Linked DNA regions of Homo sapiens: region 1 is linked to region 2. Evidence: promoter capture Hi-C in 16 types of primary human blood cells and fetal thymus (Javierre and others, 2016). All regions are on one chromosome and are shown on one strand. Each heading gives the region's core, a stretch centred on a gene start or on the middle of the fragment in contact. The rest is flanking DNA. Distances are from core to core; before and after follow the strand shown.

Region 1 (3,691 bases), core at 627-3,126, 3.2 Mb after region 2:
AAAATTTCTAAATTAAAATCTCATCAAATTAAATCTCAGCCATAACATGCCTCAATTAATTTCCTTAAGAAGCAAATTAATGATTCAAGAATCTACATCAGGATAGGAGTATTGAATATATTTGAGAGCAAATCAAGGAGCATCTATGTATGATGATAATGTGCTAATTCTAAATCATTCCTATTTGTCTTCTTAGAGGGGGCATGTAAAAGCAAAGAAAATATTTACATACAATTATCTTGTATGGGTGAGGGAAGCAAAAACTTAATGGAAACTTCAGGCTGAAAACCATCAATAATTAAACAAGGATTGAACAGGTCCAGAGAAAAGGAGCACAATAGTAAAGGGAGAAAAAGGCCTTTGCTAGAAATTCAGAACTCTAAATCTAGAGGCAACAGGCGAAAGGGCTTATATATAAGTATGTTCATTAAAAGGTAGAAATATAGATATTAGAGCCACTTACCAAAACCAGAAAATGAGTCACAGAAGGATATTTTTAGGATGGAAAAAAAACCCCAAAACTCAACTTAGTACATTTATACATTTGCTCCAAAAAGTGTTACATAGGCCAAAATTTGTTTTAGTGTTTTTGATAAATATATGTCACTGAACCAAATCCAGTTGCTAATATGTAAGGTTCATAATCACCTGAGATTCAACAGCAAGGACAGCCACCACAATGTCGCTGGACAATGAAACACTGCAGCTGGAAAGAGCGCCTGAACTAGGGCCTCAGATGGACGTACTAAACTTCTTTACATGGTTGACAATTTAAACATTCCTTTGGCCCCACTATCTACTCTGATCTAATTTAGTGAAGTTTTATTACTCAGGTAGAAATCAAGCTACTATGTGAATAAGGAGTCATTGTTCTAGAATAAATTAACTTCAGGAACAACAGAGTAAAATCAAAGGTCAAGTGATACTTCCATTATTTCCTTGGGAAGTGGACTAAATCACATAAACCACAGAAACATCACTCTATATTGACAAAATTGTCATAAAAAATTATTTACCAGGAGGGGGATTTCTTGCCAGTTAACATAAACCAAGTATGAATACATACTTATGTCAGTGCAATTCACACACACCCTTATTTTATGTAATCTTCCCACCAGCCTCTAGTTGCTGGGGGCATTAAAACAGCAGCATATATGAGATCAGGGGATTTCTCTAGGGTCACATGAAGGGTAAGTAAGAAGCTCACGCTACAAACAAATCCACTTCCTTTTCACTCCAGCTGTTCACTGACACACTCTAATATAAGAGGCTTGTTGACAAAATGTCATGCCAATCAACTTGGCTTTTGCAAACTGCTTTGGGAATTGCTACAAACTACCCACTCCAGCAATTCAACAGTATGGCAAAATGACTAAGCTTGGGTATTGGAACCCCTCCTTGAAATGGAAATGATACAAGAAAATTAAACGTACAAATACACCCTTTGATGTACCTACTTAATATTAACAAACAGCACTTAATTAAACCACAGGAAAATACCACAAGTTATCCTCTACAAATAGAGAAACTATCATTCAATTCAATCCTACTTCAACTCAGTGCTGGACAAATGACAATTTTAACCCAACCAACTTAGAAAGTTCCCATGATTCTAATAATAAGGGATTCTAATAAGTAAGGGAGAATTCGCCTTCTTTGCCTATCTTTAAACTGAGACAATGCCTTCAGACTCAGACCAGACTATACCATTCATTCTCCTGGACTGTCAGAGCTTGCCAACTTGTCAGATCTTGGACTTCTCAGCATTCATAATCTCATGAGCCAATCCCTTATAATAAACATATACACACACACACACAAACACGCACATACAAATCATATACCTGTATATAAATGAAGCTATCTCCACATGTATTATAAGGAATATATGTCTATATATCTAGAGCTATATCTATACATACACACACACACGCACACATATATATATATATATATATGTAATTGGTTCTGTTTTTCTATAGAACTCAGACTAATACAGACCCCCTCAAGAACAGAATGTAAAAAATTAAATTTTTATCCCCAGAGCATTTAAAGTAAAAGAGAAAAATGAGATAATACTAAAATCAAAAGAATGCTACAACTCAAAGAGTCACTAGGGTAGGTTACTCCGATGTTGCATTTACAAACAAAAGCATGGTATTTTTTAAAAAATACTGTGTTTGCTATAAATAACTACTTTTATGTGAGTAAAACAGGGCAACTGTTGGCAAACTCTTTCTATAAAAGGGCCAGATGGTAAATATTTTTAGGCTTTATGGACCATACAATCTCTACTGCAATTACGCCACTCTGCAGTTGTAGCTAGAAAGCAACCATAGCCAACATGTGAACGAATGAGTCTAATTATATTCTAATAAAGCTTTCTTTATAGACACTGAAATTTAAATTTCATAAAATGTTCATGTGTCACAAAATTATTCTTTTGATTTTTTTTCAACCCACTTAAAAATGTGAAAACCAGTTTTGGCTTGTGGGCCATACAGGCCTAGGGGTTGTACTTTGTCAACCCCTAATAAAAAGAAATAAAAATATAAAATTTAAAAATAAAGGAATAAACATCTTTCCCAACCAGGCTCTAACAGTCCAACTTTTTTTGCTGGGCTACGTGTAGGACATACAACTTCCACATGGCTTTGACAGGTCCTCTTAGAAGTACTACTACAGATGTAGGACAGATGAAACAATCCTAATTTCTGTGCTCCACACGTGTTCATCAAACATTTTCATAATCTGCTCTCCACAGAAAGAAGCATAATTCCATGAGAAACAACAGAATGGATCCTCTTCAAAAGGAAGAAAAAAGTCCTTCCCATCCTGTAGATGAAGCTATCCATCTATAGCAAAGGTGGAAACAAATCTAGATGCTGTTATGTTTCCAAACCAATCCCAGGAAATGTAAAGAAACCAATAAAAATTAATCTCACTATATTACACTTCAGTAACTATAAAAATTATGTTCTTGGGAAAAAACTTACATTACTATTTCCTTTATGTGGGTGTTTATATGGGATTATTTTTATGATAGGTTTAAAAAAAGAGTGAAGTAAATGTGCATCTAATGCTTAACAAACTTCTAAAATTCCAAATATTTAGCTTTAAAAAACCTTGTCTTTAATAACAAGTTATTACTATTGCACATGCAGACGGCTGTCAAGTACCCTGTCTCCCCTGAATGCAACTATACACACATCTTTGCAAAGCTGGCTACATTTTTGAAATAACAAAATGGAAAGGAATAAGATGACTGCATTCATTTGAAAAAATATTAACATTTAAAAACTCAGTAGGATATCTGAGCTGCTATCATTGTGTTAGAAATATTGTAAATTTAACAAAATTTGGTGTTTTTAACACTAAAGGCTTGAAAGAAAAATCTAGTTACTAACTTGAGAAAGTATTTAATACTAGCAGGATACCGAATCCTAGAAGGTACACTCTTTTAAAAGAAACCACCATTTTAACACACACACACACACACACACACACTCACACACTCCTGTTGTACAGCTTCAGAGGTGGGTATGACTTGATCACAAATAAAGGGAGATTTTTACATGACTACCAGCAACTAGAAAAGTATCCCAGATTTTTAAAGAATCAAGCTAAACTCACATTTTGAAAAGGGAAAAAAAGGAACAAAAACAAAATTGGGGGTGTGGGGAGAGGTGAT
Region 2 (3,552 bases), core at 835-3,334:
ATCCTTACAGACTACAGAAAATATAGCGATTTTAAGACACATGTAAAAAAGTTTCCAGCCAAAGAGATTTTGTGATGCTCCATAAACACTGTTCATCTGTTATTTATCTGGCATATTAATTTAATGACAACTACACAGGGCAATAGACTTACAAAAGCACACTCTAAGGGATGAAAAGCCATAGGGAGTATTCATTTTTTTTTTTTTTTTTTGAGATGGAGTATCGCTCTGTCGCCCAGGCTGGAATGCAGTGGCACAATCTTCGCTCACCGCAAACTTCACCTCCCAGGTTCTAGTGGTTCTCCTGCCTCTGCCTCCCTGGTATATGGGACTACAGGTGCCCGCCACCATGCTGGCTAATCTTTGTATTTTAGTAGAGAGGGGGTTTCACCACGTTGGCCAGGATGGTGTTGATCTCTTGACCTTGTGATCCACCCGCTTTGGCCTCCCAAAGTGCTGGGATTACAGATGTTAGCAACTGCACCCGGCCTCATTTTTATAAGATCACACAGAGGTTTTTTTGTTTGTTTGTTTTTGAAATGGAGTTTCGCTTTTGTCGCCCAGGCTGGAGTGGAATGGCGTGATCTCAGCTCACTGTAACCTCCGCCTCCCGGGTTGAAGCAATTCTCCTGCCTCACCCTCCAGAGTAGCTGGGGTTACAGGAACCCACCAACATGCCCAGCAATTTCTTTTTTTAACAAAACTCCTAACACCTCGTTAATCATTAATTAGTCTTTGGGTTTTGGTTCAACACCTAACATTTGCAAATCACACAATTATCTTTGTTCTTTCATTAGCGGAAGACACTTTCATTTGTTACCCTGAGAATATGAGACATTCACAATCTAATTCCTGACTACATTTGATTTCAAACAGATAGGAATAAGTTCCAGAATATAAAATATTAACTATTTGGGAGTATCTTGTGGGTATGCTCTAATTAAGAAATGCTTCCTTTTCCGAGGAAAACTGCTGACATTGCAAGAGTTATTACAAAGCCACAAATCTTAAGAAAATACATGTTTAACTGAAATTATAAAGATATTTTGCAAAAAAGGGAAATCGCTCCTGCTGGTGTTTTGTGTATAAATCTCTTTCTAACTTCAAGCTCTCTCAAGTTAGGGCAACAGTAAATGAAGTGGGAACAGTATCGCATTGGGAAATATCTGAAATGATACCTATGGGACTATCTAACGAAACTGAGGCCCAGAAGAATTGAAGTGACCTGTGCAATGACACCAATTTGTTAGCAGAGCCAAGATTAGAACCAAGTTTGGTGCCTTCCTGCATCCTTCCTGCATCGGTCCTTTCTCGGTGCTGCAGCAGCCTTTTACTTACTAATTTCACCCTGAAGAAAGGTAGACCATCCTGGCGTGGCAGAAGCGTGGACATTCGTTTTCTAAGGGATGGTCACACACCTTTGCCTATTTGCATTTAGTTTCTTTAAAAAGTAAAAACACCTCCATTTTGGAACACTTTTAGAGACAAAAGCAGAACATACGAAAGTGTATTTCACTGCTGAGTTCTTAAGAGGCGTACACCGTGTGGTTATAACGTGCGCAACTCTGTCCCGGGCAACTGAACTTATTTTTAGCGTTATTTTCGGCTTCTGCTGCAGAAAACTAGGGATTCAACTACCCGCACCTACGTTTCACACAACAGCACTCGTCTCTCTCCTTCACTCCTAATAAAAACACCTTACTTCGTTTATTCCTGCCTGCTCTACCTCGTCTCAACATTTTCTCTTGTTAACTTCCACCACACTGCCTTTTACTCGGATTGGAAACCCACTCTCCCCCAACTTCTGTCTCATACCCCCAACTTCTGTCTCATACCCCCAACTTCAGGAAGCGTCTTCCTTTTTTCCGCCTCTCGTTCGCTTTTGTCTTACGAGGCTTCCGGAACACGGCCCAGAATTACAGAGAAAACACACTGCGCACGCGCACTCTCTCGTCACCGCTGTGCGGCTTCTGTTTGGTTGGCCAGTTCGTCCCAATTTCCGACTCACAGGGCTGCGGAGCAGCAACTCTCACGATATTTGCTGCGACCCGCAGGCGCTATCCGCTGCCGGGTTCTGGCGCGCCCTTTCAGTTCTGCTTGCTGTCGGCACCGCTGCGTTACCCGGAACCGCCGGGCCGAACAGCATGACGTCCGCTTTGGAGAACTACATCAACCGTATCCTCAAGCTGGCCGCCGCGGGCGTGAGCCGGGGTCGCGGAGAGGCCGCGGTCGGGGATCGGTGGGAGGTTGGGAGGCCTGGCCTCGGCGGGATCCTGGGGGCGGGCGAGGAGATGAGGGCCCCGGAACGACCCAGAGTTCGCCGGCGGCGCCTCGAGCCTTCCCGCTGCTGCGGGCCCAGGGGTCCTTTCCATTTTGCCTGCAAAACCCAAATAAAAACCCAGTGTGATTATTCCGAACTTTTCTGTCTTAAAAAAAATGTACGCTCTTGATTCTTACTTACTATTTCCCTATGGCATAAGTGTTAAAGTTTGTGAATAAGATGAACAGTCGTCCTGGCGGCGACAACAGTTTTGCAAATCTTTGTACTTGTTTTATTCACATAATTTGCTCGTTCGAGGATAGCAAAAAGTTTAACGATGGTTCACAGACTGTTTCTGTCCCTTTACCACTTGAAGTCCCAACTTGTTGGTAGAATGAAAAAAAATGGTTGCTGTTGTAATGGATTATAGTGAGGAGCAAGTAACAACCCCATGGGAAGTCTTAAAATAGACTTTACAAGTGTTACCGTTTTAAAGTCTTAGGACAAAAACACTACGTTAAGCTCAGGTACAAACTGGGTGACAAAAATTAAATACCGAATGCTTTTAATGATGCGTTATTGGTACCCTGTGACACTGCTTATATAGTTTCTTTACTTTTGAATTACAGAAGCCTGTCCTGGAAGACAGTTTTTTAACATGCTGGAAAATCGTCCAACATCGATTAATTTAGTACTCATCCACTTTTCATTTTAGAAATAAACAGGCCTAAGAAACGAAATATCCTGCCTGAAATAATAGATTGGTAACCTTCCTAGTAGAAAAGTGTCAAAAATCCAGGATATTTTGAGATAAGATACACCGATCACATACAGAAAGAGGTTTTCTTTTTCTATTTTTTCCCTTTTTTAATCATGTAATTATCACAAAGACAAAAACAGAAGCTTTTTTTAAGTTTTTTTTTTTTTTTCTTTTTTTGAGTCGAGGGTCTCACTCTGTTGCCCAGGCTGGAGTGCAGTGGCTTGATCATGGCTCAATGCAACCTTGAACTCCTGAGCCCAAGCAATCCTCCTGCCTCTGCCTCTGCCTCCTGAGTAGCTGGGACTATAGGTCACCAGGCCAGGGTAATAGAGATGGGGGTATCGCTGTGTTGCCCAAGCTGGTCTCACCTCAAGTGATCCTCCTGCCTTGGCGTCTAAGAAACTTTTAACGTTTTTATGTAGTGAACTTAGTGGCTGTGTTGAATACTTATACCTAGTTGTCATATTTATTCTAAAAATTCAAATCATTCCCTTGCCAGAGTCTGTTTTCAATTTGCATTCCCTAAGAAACA

Evidence for each region. The method cuts DNA at HindIII sites, captures the fragments that hold promoters and counts their contacts. A CHiCAGO score of 5 or more calls a contact.
Region 1: a contact is called between a fragment that was not itself captured here and the fragment with the promoter of LSM8 in region 2, in 1 of 17 cell types (naive CD8 T cells). The highest score is 5.6, in naive CD8 T cells.

The regions. Positions count from the first base shown.
Region 1 is chr7:121,384,755-121,388,445 of GRCh38, forward strand. All of the region lies in intron 1 of FAM3C (FAM3 metabolism regulating signaling molecule C), which reads right to left. Among named protein-coding and RNA genes, the nearest start is that of FAM3C, 9.7 kb to the right of the region's middle. RefSeq lists a silencer at 546-743. The HindIII fragment of the contact is 1,003 bases long and covers 1,376-2,378 here.
Region 2 is chr7:118,182,080-118,185,631 of GRCh38, forward strand. LSM8 (LSM8 homolog, U6 small nuclear RNA associated) reads left to right here and starts at 2,085. Exons shown (of 4, transcript NM_016200.5): 1 at 2,085-2,175. The coding sequence starts at 2,145. LOC105375470 (a long non-coding RNA gene) reads right to left here and starts at 1,889. Exons shown (of 4, transcript XR_927904.3): 1 at 1,836-1,889. The HindIII fragment of the contact is 4,305 bases long and covers 1-3,161 here.